Regions from separate parts of the Homo sapiens genome. Here region 2 is linked to region 1. Evidence: promoter capture Hi-C in 16 types of primary human blood cells and fetal thymus (Javierre and others, 2016). All regions are on one chromosome and are shown on one strand. Each heading gives the region's core, a stretch centred on a gene start or on the middle of the fragment in contact. The rest is flanking DNA. Distances are from core to core; before and after follow the strand shown. Region 1 holds the start of SMAD1-AS2 (SMAD1 antisense RNA 2). Region 2 has its middle 55 kb from the start of LINC02266.

Region 1 (7,301 bases), core at 2,424-4,923:
GTGCACAAAATTATTAAAATTATTTTATAAGATTGGCCAGGCATGGTGGTTCATGCCAGTAATCCCAACCCTTTGGGAGGCTGAAGCGGTGGATCACTTAGCCCAGAAGTTTGAGACCAGCTTGGGCAATGTGGCAAAACCCTGTCACTAATAAAAATCCAAAAATTAGCCAGGCGAGATGGCACTTGCCCGTAGTCCCAGCTATTCAGGAGGCTGAGGTAGGAGGATCACTTGAACCTGGGAGGTCTAGGCTGCAGTGAGCCATGCCACTGCACTCCAGCGTGGGCAACAGAGCAAGACCATGTCTCAAGAAAAAAAGAAAAATTTCAGCCTATGTGCATAAGGTGTAGATGAAACATACATTAATTTTATGTTTAGACTTGGGTCCCATCCCCAAGATATCTCATTTTATATATTCAGAATATTCCAACATCCAAAAATACCTGGAATCTGAAACACCATCTGGTCCCAAGCATTTCAGATAAGGGATACTCAACCTGTATTCCTGTACAGGAATTATGGACATTTAGTCCATAATTCTTGGACTACTTCTCCTCCAGTGGCCTTGTCTTTGGTCCTACCTCAGATATTCAATCTCTGGGTAGAAAGATTCCATAAAAAAAGAAGAAAAAAATCTCGCTCAGTCTTACAGTTCCCATAATACGGGTTTTCATACTTCTAAAAATTAAACAATTCTCCAACCTTACAGTTAATTATTTTCTTTATATAAGCAGTAAAGTATTATTTGTTCATGTCTGTACTTTGAGAATATATCCAGAATCTGACGACTTCTGCCACGCTGGTTGAAATCTTTATCATCTTGTACCTTAACAATTGCCATAGCTTCCTAACTGGTCTCCCTACCCACCACTCCCTACTTCGATCCCTGCGTCCTTCAGTATGTTCTCAACCCAGCAAGCCACAGTAATTCTATTAAACTCTAAGTTGGATGATGGCTCTCCTCTGCTCAGATCTCCCAGTGTTTCCATCTCAATTTGGGTCAAAAGCTCTGAAGTCTCTGTGGGTCCCGCACATACCTTCCCCTGTGACCTCTCTGGCCTCATCTCTCATTTCTCTCCCCTCACTCCATTCCAGCCTCAGTGAGGACTCCTTGCCATTCCTTGAACATCTCAGGATCATTCTTGCCAAATGGCTCAAATGGCTTTTGCAATTGCCCTTCTCTCTGCTTGGAATGCCCTTCCCCAGATAATTCCTTTCAGGGGGCTGTTCAGATACCACATTCACGACGAGGCTTTCCCTGACCACCAGAATGTAGGCCCCACCAAGGCACAGAAACAGACTTTGAAAAACTTTTTGTGTCTCTTTCAGTGCTGCGTTTCTAGTGCTTAGAATAGTGCCTGGCATGTGATAGCTGTTTGTTGAGTGAATTGAATAACTGTAGTGGTTACTAGTTTTTCTCTTTTTGTATGAAGTTAGAACTTCATTAAACAGACAAAAACTAGACTGTAAACCTCATTTTTTTGGATATGCAAAATATTAAAATTAGCCTTATTTGTGAACCTGCTTTGTTAATCACTTTGTTTTTCAGCATGTTATAATTTTGAAGTAAGCCTTTCATGTTTATATTTAATCTGCCTAACCCAGTGGATTGGGTGATGGTATCACAATTTTGTGGAAAAGCAAATTGAGGCTCAGAGTTGTTTTCTTCAAAGTACAGCTACTAAGTGGACAGCTGCAGTTCAAACCTATTCAAGTTAAGGACACTTGTTTTCTAATTTAGAAACCATCTTAAAATGACAAAAAAGTAGGTAGAGGTTTTATTTGAAAGCATGGAGAATGTGCCCCAATTTCTCATTCTGGGTTTTGTCTGCCTTTTGTTTCCATTTTCAAAATATGTAAAATAAATGGTTAACTTTAAAATTCCTGACAATGACAGATCAACAAGTTTTATTTCTCTCACCTGTGGAGGAAGTGGCCTCCACCCAGTTTTACTGAATTAGGAGGGAAGTGATTTTTTCAAGTGATAAAAAGAAATAAAATTCCATGCTCTTCCCAGAGGAGGAGTTCAACAATTGGGAAAGTGGCGTGAGACCATATGTTGGTTTGTAAAAGGATATAACTTGTAAAGATGTTTCCTTTGATGCCTGTGATGAATATGGATGTGTTTCCCTTCTAGAGGGTCCTGATTAAATTATGCAATTAAGAGCTGAGCTGAAGGATCTAAATATAGGAAGAGAGTTCAGGCCGTCCTGCTTTGTGTCTGTCAGTTCACCCCTACAGATGTGCATGTTTGTTGTCATAAACAGCACCTGTGAGATCAGTGGAGCGAGAGAAATATGTTCCAAAACATGAAATACAGCAGGATTTTTGTTTCTTTTTTTTTTTTTAAAGGGATAGTTTTTTCCTCCTGTAGTTGATTCCATTTTCATCTGTGAATTTGATATTTGGATTACCTTTTTTTTTTTTAAACTTGACTGAGGGACTTCAGTATTAGTCAGTACTGGTTTAAAATATAGATATACTACTTACCAGAATATGGTCTGGAGAAAGTTACTTTAACCTCTGAGCCTCAAGTTTATTACTAAAATTGAGATAATGATTTCTACCTTGAAGCATTGGTGTGAGGAGTCAATGTAATAATGTTTGTAAAAACAACCAGTATAATGCTTGTATAAGTTGGTAACTCAAACAATTTCGTTTATTAGCTACTGACGAATCATTCATAACTAGCCACTTACGGAAATCTACCACATTTAGCATTCTTTGTAGTCTAAAATTGCTATTTTAGGATAACTGACTCAAAGAGAATAGTTTTTTCTGAGACAACTACCATAGACTTTCTCCTGGGATAGTCAATAAAATTAAATCTTAAAATGTCTGTGGTCTTCAATCTTTCCTGTGTTTGAGGAGTGAGCATTTGTAGGCCAGGAGTCTTTACAGTGTTTGAGTTGACATGAATGTGAATGGCCTTTATCAGGATGAGCTTATGGGGAGCTGGACATCTTGAAAGGCTACCGTGTCCTGAAGGACAGTATGCCATTACAAGCATGAATTTGGGAATGGGGGTTCAATGGGATTAAGGAATGTTGTACAACTTTTAGAGGAAATGGCAAGAAGATATAGAAAAGCCAACTTTGTTTGTTGAAGTTGGGGACAATAAGAAAACTTTCAATTGCCTTAACTATTCAAGTAATCATCTAATCAGACAAAACAGATGTGACAGCTGCTATTTTATAGGGAATCTCTGTGATTAAGAAAAATTAACCAGGTACTCTATTAGCAGCCTAGATTTGTCAGGATGGAAGGATTTGTGTATGCAGAACAGAACCAGAAAGAACTCTTTTTAAAGAATTTTCTGATATAATGAAGATACGTTAATAGCACACTTGGCACACCTAAAATAAATAAACTACAGTTATATCCTTAGAGACTCTTGTCATTCTGACATCCATAAGTTCCTTGCTTCCTTTTCATCAAGGAGATGCTACTTTTGAAATTGTTTGGCTGAAATTTCACAGCTTCAGTGAACTTACAAGTGGTAAGTAGTAAGCTGGAATTCAGTCTACATGGTATTCCTTTTCTTTTTGATTCCTAAGATTTCTACTCACTTAACACTGTTGAGGGACCAAATTGCATCTCTTGCTGGCATGTCACTTAAGTTATACTGGAGAGACTGGAAGACTTGCTGTCAGTGTCTGCGCTTTAAACGCACAGTGTCTGCGCTTTAAAGGCAATAGTACCTGCATTATTGCATCACTATAAATAGAATTTCACGAACTGAACCTCTCTCCTATCTCCAACCCCCAATTTCTCCAGATTTAGAAAATCAGTCTCCGGCAAAAATAAATTTTCAGTGGGAAAAATGTCAAACTAGCTATTCTGCATCATCAGTCCCATGTTTGGAAGTAGCCAGATCAAGGCTGAATAGTAAGAGGCTCAGTAAGATGGAACTTTACTTGTGGTGTTTGTGATGGTAGGACTCTCCTGCTGCTGTGAACTGAGAGCAGCAGAGTTCTGTGTTCTCTGTGGGTCTCCGTATGGCTTTCTTGTGTAGGAATTTGGTTTAAATACATTTTTCCCCTAAGGACTAAAGCGAAATAGAGTTCATTATAGCCTTTTTAGCAATGAAGTTAAGCGCTGTACTTTATGAAGTACGTTAGCATCAGTAAAGAGCAAGGTTTTATCCATTTTCATTTTTCTTTCTGTTCTAGAGGTTTTTTCCTCCCTTATTTTGCTTAGTGGTGAGTTTTATTTAGCTAAATTTGACTCATTTGAGATTGAGACAAATGTTGAAAGTTGAGGGCTAACTGCTGTTTTAAAACAGGAAAAAGGAATGCAGGCACTTCACCTGTTTCCTCCTCCAATACAAATACAGCAGGTCCTCAGACAACCTCATTTCATTCAATGCCATTTCCTTATAACGTTGATGAGAAAAAACATTCCCAGCCTAGGCCACTGTCTGTGTGGAGTTTGCACATTCTCCCCATGTCTGCTTGGGTTTTCTCTGGCTACTCTAGTTTCCTCCCATATCCCAAAGGTGTGCACGTTAGGTGAATTAGTATGTCTACATTGTCCCCATTGCAGTGCATGTAGGTGTGTGTGTGAGTGCGCCCTGCCATGAAATGGTGTCCTGTCCAGGGGTGGTTCCCACCTTGTGCCCTAAGCTGCTGGGATCGGCTCGGGCCACTGCGACCCTGAATTGGAATAATTGGGTAAATAATTATCTTGTTTCTGTTCATCTTTCTTAAATGTATATATGGCTCACATTTATTTCAGTGTTAATTTTAGAAGTGTTTTGGGTCTCAGAAGTTTGGTAATGTTTTTGTGACCAGAAATGTCCTGAAGGAACTTAACTCTTGTTTATATAAATTAGCTGATGCTAAAATTAATTTTGTTTTACATCGTTTCACTTAGAGCCACAGTTTCCAAGAACCCGTAAGGACTTTACTGTATCTGAAAACCTGGTTAGCTCCTAACTGGAGTAACTGGGTTAAAGAAGCATTTGAACATTATTTGTTGAACCAGATCAAAGAACATTGCTACTTTAGGGTATTTTCTGGAACTGAAATAACTAGATCCATTTCTGTTTTTATATTCATTGTAATGGCATTGGACTTGTATAGCAAATTTTAACTTGTCTTTTGCCTGTCTGCCTTAACCTTAAGGGTAGATATTTATCATTTTCCTTAAGGAGCTGTACAATAATCTTTCATGCTTTTTGTTAGGAACCATTTACAATTCCTACTGTCTGCTACTTATCGTTGTGTTCTACTTGTTCTAGAGTTCTGTCTCCACCTGTCTTCATTTTTAGGGGTACTGTTTTTTAGGGGTACTATTTCTCTGTTTGGAAATGTGAGCGGATGGCAGTTTCTGCCTCAGCCCTCTTGCTGGGCCATTGTCTCATGTGGGTTGTCTGCTGTTCCACATTTAAGTAATAGTTATTTCAGCTTTATCAAAAGTTTGTAAGTTCCCAGTTCTTCTGGACTTCTGATTAATTCAGCCTGATTTTATTTAGGGCAAATGATTATGATCCCCTTTCCATTTTGTGAATTTTTCATATTTTACCAATAAATCTCATTGCAATTCTTTGCTTACAAGATGGCTTGAAAGATGCAAGCAATGATGGATTGCTCTTTATTGTTTTAAAATATTTATTGGCCTTAAATTGCTGAAATAATATGGTTTTTCCAACCTTTGTGTTTTTATGCATTTTTAACCCTACGTCTTTAGTGTATAATCTTCTGTGAGTCTGTGGTTTCTATAAGTGTCAGGAATTTTTCAGGTGTCTTTATTATCCTTTGAAATCATGATCTATTTGGACAATTCCATCTTTGTTTGGACTATACAGTTGACTTGAGTACCTAAGTGAAATGGAGCAGGTTAGAAAAAAGTAGTTTGTTTTATAGTAATGAGAATTACATTACAAGTCCCCTGGCATGTTCCCCTTTGACCTTTTTTGATGTTTTAATTTAAGCATCTCAAACAAGGCAAGAGTTGATCTCACCAGGCCTTGAATCCTATCCAAAATTGGATGTTAGGATAGATGACACATACATTTCTGTAATACTAATTAATATTGCCAGTTAATATTGATCACTTTCTACAACATGTCTCTGAGATATCTTGCATCTCCATGGCATCTAATGAGGTGTATTGTGAAATAGTTTCATATATTAAAAATACTGGAAAATAATATAAAAAATTAGCTGGGCGTGGTGGTGGGCACCTGTAGTCCTAGCTGCTCCGGAGGCTGAGGCAGGAGAATGGTGTGAACCCAGGAGGTGGAGGCTGCAGTGAGCCGAGATCGCGCCACTGCACTGCAGCCTGGGCGACAGAGCAAGACTCTGTCAAAAAAAAAAAAAAAAATGCTGAACTACAAAATTCATGCAGTTTGCTTATAATCACTCTGAAGCCCACCATAGGTCTACTCTGGAAGCTCAAGTCTTACTTTTTCTGTGTATTCACAAGACCAGTCTATCTGTTTAAGAATATATCTGGCGATGTAAGTCTGGAAATACGCACTTAGGTGGTTTTGTTACTTAGAAATATTTGTTTCCAAAAAGGAAAAAAAAGGTCAAACAATTTTTTTTTTTTTGAGGCGGAGTCTCAATCTGTCACCCAGGCTGGAGTGCAATGGCACAATCTTGGCTTACTGCAACCTCCACCTCCCTGTTCAAGTGATTCTCTTGCCTCAGCCTCCCAAGTAGCTGGGTCTAAAGGTGTACACCACTATGCCCGGCTTATTTTTGTATTTTTAGTAGATACAGGGTTTCACCATGTTGGCCAGGCTGATCTTGAACTCTTGACTGGTGATCCCCCCTCCTCGGTCTCCCAAAGTGCTGGGATTACAGGTGTGAGCCACCAAGCCTGGCCGATCAAACAGAATTTTTATAAAGTTGTCTTTAAAAAAAAGAAAAAAAAAGTATCCAGCTGTTAAACATTTTCAAAGTGAAGTTAATCAATACCCTGTACTTTTAGTTCCTTAATTCTTTTGATCTTTGTGCCATGATTTTTTACTATTAGTTAAGAAAGTGTAATGAACCAAAGAACAAGAAGTAGGGGGAGAAAAGAGTTGCCTGCTTCATTTGACAATAGACCATTTATCTTCTGTTATTTGCCTTTCTTAAAGTACGGAGAGTTTTTGGATTTTTTTCCCCCAGTCACTTTTTGTAGCCTGTATTTTTTGTTTATTTTATTGAATAATACAATTATTCCCTCAATATTTAATGGGAGCATTTATTTTGTCTGCTGAATTCCATACTGGTGCAAGAATTATAAAACAGCCTCTAGTCTGAAGCTGATACAGAGAGTGGTTGAACATTATTTGTCTCCTAATCTTT
Region 2 (7,301 bases), core at 1,961-4,460, 220 kb before region 1:
AGCTTCCTTTCTGTTCTTGAAAACTTTTAAAATTTAATTTGGGATTCAATTAATTTATTATACATTATTAAGAACCTAAATGTTCTCACAGACCAATTTTCAAGAGTATAGTAACACTGTACAGTATATCATTGCTTGGTTGGAGTTACCTGAAGCAAATGAACTGAGTAATACAGTGTACATCAGATAGAAGAGATGTGAAGTACACAGAGAACTTTTATTGTTCCAGAGTAATAACCCATGCAACTTATGCAAGAAAAAGCTGGTGTGTTTTGGAATATTCCAGCTTCAGGATTAAATTCATTCCATGTACTCTGGCAGGGAGGAGGGAGATTCTTAACAGCTGGGACCAGAATCTGTGCTAGTGAAATACTCCATAAACTATGAGCCATGGAAGATGCCTCCTGAGGACATGGGATAGCTGGGGACAAAGAACAGTCACAGCTAATCGTCTCTACAATAAATATATGGAGATGGGAAAAACTGAGAGGAGGGAGAGTGACTGGTGAAGAAATATGATGATATACCTTAAAATCTTTTCAGATGTAGATTATGCAATGTTCAGTTTTAGGATCTTTTCATTTCTGTGATGCAAACCCACCTTCACCATCCCAAATCTTTGGTGGATTCTGCTATTTACACAAATGCCTTGTGTGGATGCTGTTCATGTGTGAGCTTGTGTCCTGCGGGAATTGAGAGACTGAGTTCCATGTCTGGGTGAATGTGGTACAAAATAGGGACAGCACATGCCACATGGCAAGATAATCTGTCAATTAAACTCATCAGTGGAAGCAGCACTCGGAGCCAGAAATAACGAGAGTGAAAGTAGCCTGGGAATTCCCAGATATTCTGGGGACGCACATTGGATTTTCACTGAAGGAAATATGAAATGGGAGTTTGAGCCACCTTAAGAGGCAAGGATACTCTTCTGACATCTGGGTTATCTGTTAGTGAATATTTGGAATTGAATGGATTATCTTGTATTTACCAGGTTGCTTTCGAAGCATATGATTGTAGTTAAGATAGAAAATGTAGACACTAAGATTTCTTACTTCTTGGCTGGGTGTGGTGGCTTACAACTGTAATCCCAGCACTTTGGGAGGCCGAGGCAGGCGGATCACAAGGTCAGGAGTTCAAGACTAGCCTGAGCAACATGGTGAAACCTCGTCTCTACTAAAAAATACAAAAATTAGCCAGGCGTGGTGGCGTGTGCCTGTAGTCCCAGCTACTCAGGAGGCTGAGGCAGGAGAATCACTTGAACCCAGGAGGCAGAGGTTGTGGTGAGCTGAGATCGTGTCACTGCACTCAAGCCTGGGCAACAGTGCAAGAGTCCGTCTCAAAAAAAAAAAAAAGTTTTCTTACCTTTTGGTAACAACTAGGGCCTTGGGCTGAATATCCAGAAGTTACCCAGTTATCTCTGGTCTAGACATTGGTAAAGACTTCACTGGATTGTGAATTTCCCAATATTTCTTCATTTCTACAGTCCTGAAGAGGTTTTTCACAGGACTGGGTCAGAGGTTCTGAGTCAATACACAAATATACCTAATGCTAAATGACGAGTTAATGGGTGCAGCACACCAGCATGGCACATGTATACATATGTAACTAACCTGCACATTGTGCACATGTACCCTAAAACTTAAAGTATAATAATAATAAAATTTAAAAAAATAAAAATAAAAAATAAAAATTCTGAATAGTCCTATTACAGCTAAATACATTTAACCAATAATAATAATAATAAAAGCTTTCCCACTAAGAACAATTCAGAAAAAAAAAAAGTTACTGTGTATTGATACTGTAGAAACCAAAATAAAATACTTGTAGGAAAACATCAAGAAATATTAGGCTAGAGGGTTTGTTGAATGTGGTTTCTTGAGTCTCCCTGGTTTTTCATGGGAGACAGACTTGGGTTGGTGGCAATGGCAATCTGTATGGCCATGGTTAGTTCTCTCAGATCAACAGAAGCCCCAATTAGAGGCTTATAAAACTTCTCATCAACCTCACTACCCTAAAGCTCTATCATAATTTTTATAAAGTTGGAAGAAAAAAAAGCCTTTACTAAGTTTTATCACTTGGATAAAGATCATATTCCAAGTACAATTCTTGGTATGTCATATCACCATTTTGCTTCATTGATCACAGATTACCCAATGATTATTAGACATCACATGCATAGATGCATAGCAATTATTTCTGGAGGCAAGCCTGTGACATATGCAATTAGGAGTGGCAAGGCCCGGCAGGACCAGCCAGGGCCTCCCACAGAGCCGTATTTAACAATTGGTTGACTAGGATATAAAGGATCTGTGATATCATGCTAGCATGTTAGAAGTTGTTTTCCTAAGGGTCATAGTTGGCTATATATAGAATAATGCCATCAGCCAGAAAGGACTTCCTGATTGCATATATAGGATTTGCTTATGTTTACAGCAGGAGTAACTTCCTATTTTCATTCCCATTCTCAGGGAAAGTAATTTGATCTAGATAGAGTATAATCCCAGGACTACTTCGTTTGCAAGAAGATAAACTCAACTTAATCCAGTTTCAGTAAAATTTGAGCTTAATTGAAAGAATACTGGAATAGCTCAGAGAATTGAAGGATGGTTCTCAGGAACTACAGGAATGCTGAAGACCTTCATGAGTGGAACCAGGCACTCAAACTCTAAACAGCACACTCTTCTGAATCTTGTTTCTGTTTCCCTATGCTTGTTGGTTGTATTCTATTTTGCTACGAGGAGTTTCCTTTTTTTTTTTTTTTGAGACTGGGTTTTGTTATGTTGCCCATGCTGGAGTGCAGTGGCACAATCATGGCTCAGTGCAGCCTTGATCTCCCGGGCTCAAGCAATCCTCCCACCTCAGCCTCCTGAGTAGCTGGGACTACAGGTGCACACCACCAGACTTGGCTAATTTTTAAAAAATTTTTAGTGGAGATGAGGTTCTGCTGTGTTGCCCAGGCTGGTCTCAAACTCCAGAAGCTTTTTCTTTATGCTAGAAAACAAGATTTTCCCAGTCCTGGGCTTTCTTCATCCCTAGAGGAAAACAAGCTTCCTTTATCCAATGTTTAGGTTAAAAAAAAATCCTGGAGCAGGCCTCTGATTGGCCAGATTTAAATCATGTTTCCAACCCTTGGACGAATTGCTATGGATAAGAATATGAAGTACCATGATTGGCTGGTCATGTGTCCATTTCTAAGAGTAAAGGCAGTGGGGGAGATTCTATTACCGCAAGAAGAGTATAAGATCACTGTGCACCAGGGAGCCATACAAGTTGGTATGGCACATCTATTGGCATTTTCCCACTGTCTCCCTTACCCTTATGGAGATCACTGAGAAGAGGTAGACTACCCATGAATTCAACCTGGCCCAAAGAAGAAAGCTTCTTCATCATCTCTATGTGACTAACATCGGTCCTTGGGGCAGATGGTTCCTTTGGCAAGATACTATGGTGGGCTTTATTTCTGAAGTGCAGGTAGGCCTCTTGAAATTGTTTTGTTTGCAAGTAGGAAAAAGAGACCAAAACTTCTTGGCATTATCTTGTAAAGTGCTAGTTCCATTGTGGGCAGGGGAATTTAGGCAGATAACCTCACATTTAAAAACAGTTTATCTTCTCTCATATAGATCAGAGTATACTATGTTTGGAAAGTATTGTTTCTACTGGAAAAGGCATATGGGATGTAATTAGTCCAACAGTTACAGTGAAAACTGCAAGAATAATGAGGATGCATAGCTTTAAGTTGGACTGTCACGGAGATTTCAAAAGAGAGATTGGACTTGTGGTGCAAAGCCCACCGTGGCTGTCCTGAGTCTGCTCATTAAAAGCAAAACAAAACTAAAGAAGGGAGCCTCCTACTGTGGGTGGGATATATACAGTAGGAATAAGGATTTACATTTGGAGAACTGAAGAACTAAGCATTTTTAAAAGGGGCAAGAGAAGGCTGGGCTTTTAAGCAAGGGAGCAAGGTTAAGAACTGGAATATTTCCACAGGAAGGCACAGGTAAAGGACTTCCAGTTTTTTCCCCACTTGGGCTGTGAGATTTGTCATATTTGTCATGCAATTTTAAATTTTTCTCCTTGTCTTATAAATCCCTCTATTTTTCACCAACCCTTTAATTAAGTCTATTAGACATGCACAAGTTCTATGTTGGTGGTATTGTGGGGAATTAAAGAGAAGAGCAACAAAAAGAAGCATGATCCTGTATCCTTCCATGGAGATCATCATCATAGCATGAGAAAGGAATCCCAGATCATCCAGGTGGCACCAGGACAGAGGATCAGGGCAGAGCTGAAGGCAATGGAGAGGAACAAGTGACTCATAGAAACAGCTGCAAAGAGGGTGATTCAGGAACAAACTGAGGGACAAACATCCTCTTTCTCAAATATTCTAGAGGAAGGTGACTTTCAGAGGTTGAGAAATGGGAATGGTTGGGGGGGAAGATAAACATTGATTATATTCTCTGCAATTAGACCCTTTCATTCCTCCTCTTATTTCCCTCTCTCTTCCTCAAAATTTATTACATTAATTTCTCCCTCCAAGGTGGATCAAATATGCTTTGCTTATACAAATATTCAGAGTTCATTTTATTCAATCATGAATTTTTATTCATTTTATGTCTGTCATCCCCATTAGACTGAAAAGACAATGGCTATGACCTGCATACAGGGAAGATAGTGCTTTGCATACTGTTGTTGCTTAATAAATGGTTTTAAATTGATTTGAAAATGGTTTACTTAGTTGACTTCCTTCTTTGCAAGAGCCAACTAAGTCCCATTGGCACTTCATTTTCTCCTTTAATTTGCCATATTATCTAGAATATTTTAAAAACTTTCACCATTTTGAAATGATGCTAAATTGAACTAATTTTTCACTAAGCTTCTCAAGGAAGCAAAATCACAAATACTTCAGGTGTCATAAAATCAAAAGCACACATTGTCTTCCCAAAGGGAAGAACCACAATGAGGTATCTGCTCTTAAGAAAAGTTCTTGATACTTTTAGGATGATCTCAACTTCCACTTAGGAAGTTGGACTGTTTTAGGAAGAGAGTAATTGTTGACTGAGAGGGAGTCAGATTTTCTAGTGATCCAACTGAAAGAGCCAGCTATTGGCAAATTGGTACTTTAAAATTTTTCTGCTTGACAAACAATCCCTAACTCCAACCTTCTTTAATCACTACATATGCTTGTGAATGTAACAGGCATTACATAAAGGGAGAATCTCAAAAACAAACCCTAGCTTTTTTCATTGTACCAGTCTTCTCTGAGCAATTCCATTTTTTTGTTTTAAAATGAATAACTGAAGATAACTTTGAATCCTGGAACATGGCTGTGATATGGAAAATGAAAATAACAGAGTACAAAATAACATGTATACTGTGATTGCAGCTATTTAAAGTATTTATGCCCATGAAAGATAATACTGCAAAAATAGCATAGTCGTGTTGGAGAAGAGCAGAAAGAAGAAAGAAGCTGTATTATTTTGGTGAAACGTGATCCTTCTGTAAAAGAGACACCTGAAAATACAGTGGCTTAAAGGGCAAAAGTGTTTGCTTTCCTCTGTATCAGTCCAGGGCAGGGAGGAAGGCAACTCTGCTCCATGTGGCCACCCAGGGACCCAGGCTCCTTCTGTCTTGTTCCCATGTCATTCCCTAGAGCATTGTCCTTATCTGCTGGGTTGCAGTCATGCCTATGTTCAGCTCAAAGAAAGTGGACACAGTGTGGGGGAGTTGTGCAATATCCTAGGGTCCATGCTGGGAAGCAACACTCCTATTTCTGCACCTGTTCCTTTGATGAATATTGTCTCATGGCTACACCTAACTAACTGCAAAGAAGGCTGGGAAACGCAGTTTAGTTGGGCTCTCTTGTTTCCAGAGCAAAGTAGAAAATGGATTTTGGCTGATAGTCTCTGTTGTTATAGTTACCAATCATTGAGAACTATGCTTAGTTATTTACAAATACTGCCTCATTTAATACACACAACTGCATGTCCAAGATCTCCTTGCTTATAGTAGTTACCAAACATAACTAACGTTCTTGCATTACACCTATGTCTTTCAGCATAATGGCATTCTGAATATTTATTATCTTAAAATATTTTAATGTTGTTATATAGTAGTTCCAACTTACAGAATTCATATTTCATGATCTCTAAAGCTCCTTTCGGCTCCAAAGTATTGCTTATTTATTTCCTACAAAAAAGAAAACAGGGTTCTATGGATGATTGACTGGAATTTAGGTGGTGGGAGGGAGTGGGATTCTCTAGGAAAATGTGAGATGAAGAGAATGGAGAACTATTGATTCATGTGTTATGACTTTTATATCCCACATATTTTTGTTTCATTATTCATCTCCATCAATATCTAGTTTTTAAAATACATTTGCTTTTCATATTTTAAAAAATTCAGTACATTATTATATCAGAAATATGTTTAGGATCAGAATTCTGTGACTTTATTAAACATATGAATGTGGGCTTTTAATATTGATACTAGAGAACAAACCATTTTTATCATATTCCCTAATTTCTGACCTATAAGACCCTCCCCCCATAACACACATATACCTGTTAACTAAATCATAAATTTTAGTGTCATCCTTGCGTGCCAGCTATTCCAACATATGCCCAAAATCGATAACTCATCAAGTACTATCAATTCTACTCCTTAAATGTGTCTCTTTTCTCCCTTCTCCCTAGTTCCCCTCTCTTAGAGTAACACAGCTGACTGCTATTGTTTTCTGCATGTTCTAGTCCAATCCATTCTGTATACTGCTGCCAGAGAGATCTTTTCTAAAGCACAAACCTGATCATGGAACTGTTTGATTCACAACCCTTCTGTGACTTTCCAACACTTTCAAAATATGGACCACCTTTCATTTGGTTTCGCTGACATTCCCTACCTCCTAGCCCACCATAGCAAACTCCATGCAGGTCTCCACATATGCCATACACTCTCTTACTCCTGGGCGTTTGCATGTGCTGTGGCCTCTCACTTGGCTATCTCCTAGCATACCACCATATTCTTTCTACATGACTGCCCCAAAAAGAGTTAATTGCCCTGTCTGTGTGCTTCCCTAATACTCTGTTCTTAAACCTACCTATTAAACACTTATTAGACACTTATTAAAGTGGCTTAGGATTTTCTGTTGATTTGTCTACCTCTGTATCTTTTTTTTTTTTTTTTCTGAGACAGAGTCTTGGTGTGTCACCCAGGCTGGAGGGCAGCAGTGCAATTTCAGCTCAGTGCAATCTCCACCTCCCGGGTTCAAGCAATTCTCCTTCCTCAGCCTCCCAAGTAGCTGGGAT

Evidence for each region. Contacts are between HindIII fragments. The CHiCAGO score rates a contact against its expected background, and 5 or more counts as called.
Region 2: a fragment that was not itself captured here is called in contact with the fragment with the promoter of SMAD1-AS2 in region 1 in 1 of 17 cell types (endothelial precursors); the score reaches 7.5 in endothelial precursors.

Annotation. Positions count from the first base shown.
Region 1 is chr4:145,499,307-145,506,607 of GRCh38, forward strand. SMAD1-AS2 (SMAD1 antisense RNA 2) reads right to left here and starts at 3,674. Exons shown (of 2, transcript NR_108077.1): 1 at 3,570-3,674. All of the region lies in intron 1 of SMAD1 (SMAD family member 1), which reads left to right. The HindIII fragment of the contact is 25,873 bases long and covers 1-7,301 here.
Region 2 is chr4:145,281,830-145,289,130 of GRCh38, forward strand. No RefSeq gene overlaps it. Among named protein-coding and RNA genes, the nearest start is that of LINC02266, 55 kb to the right of the region's middle. The HindIII fragment of the contact is 331 bases long and covers 3,046-3,376 here.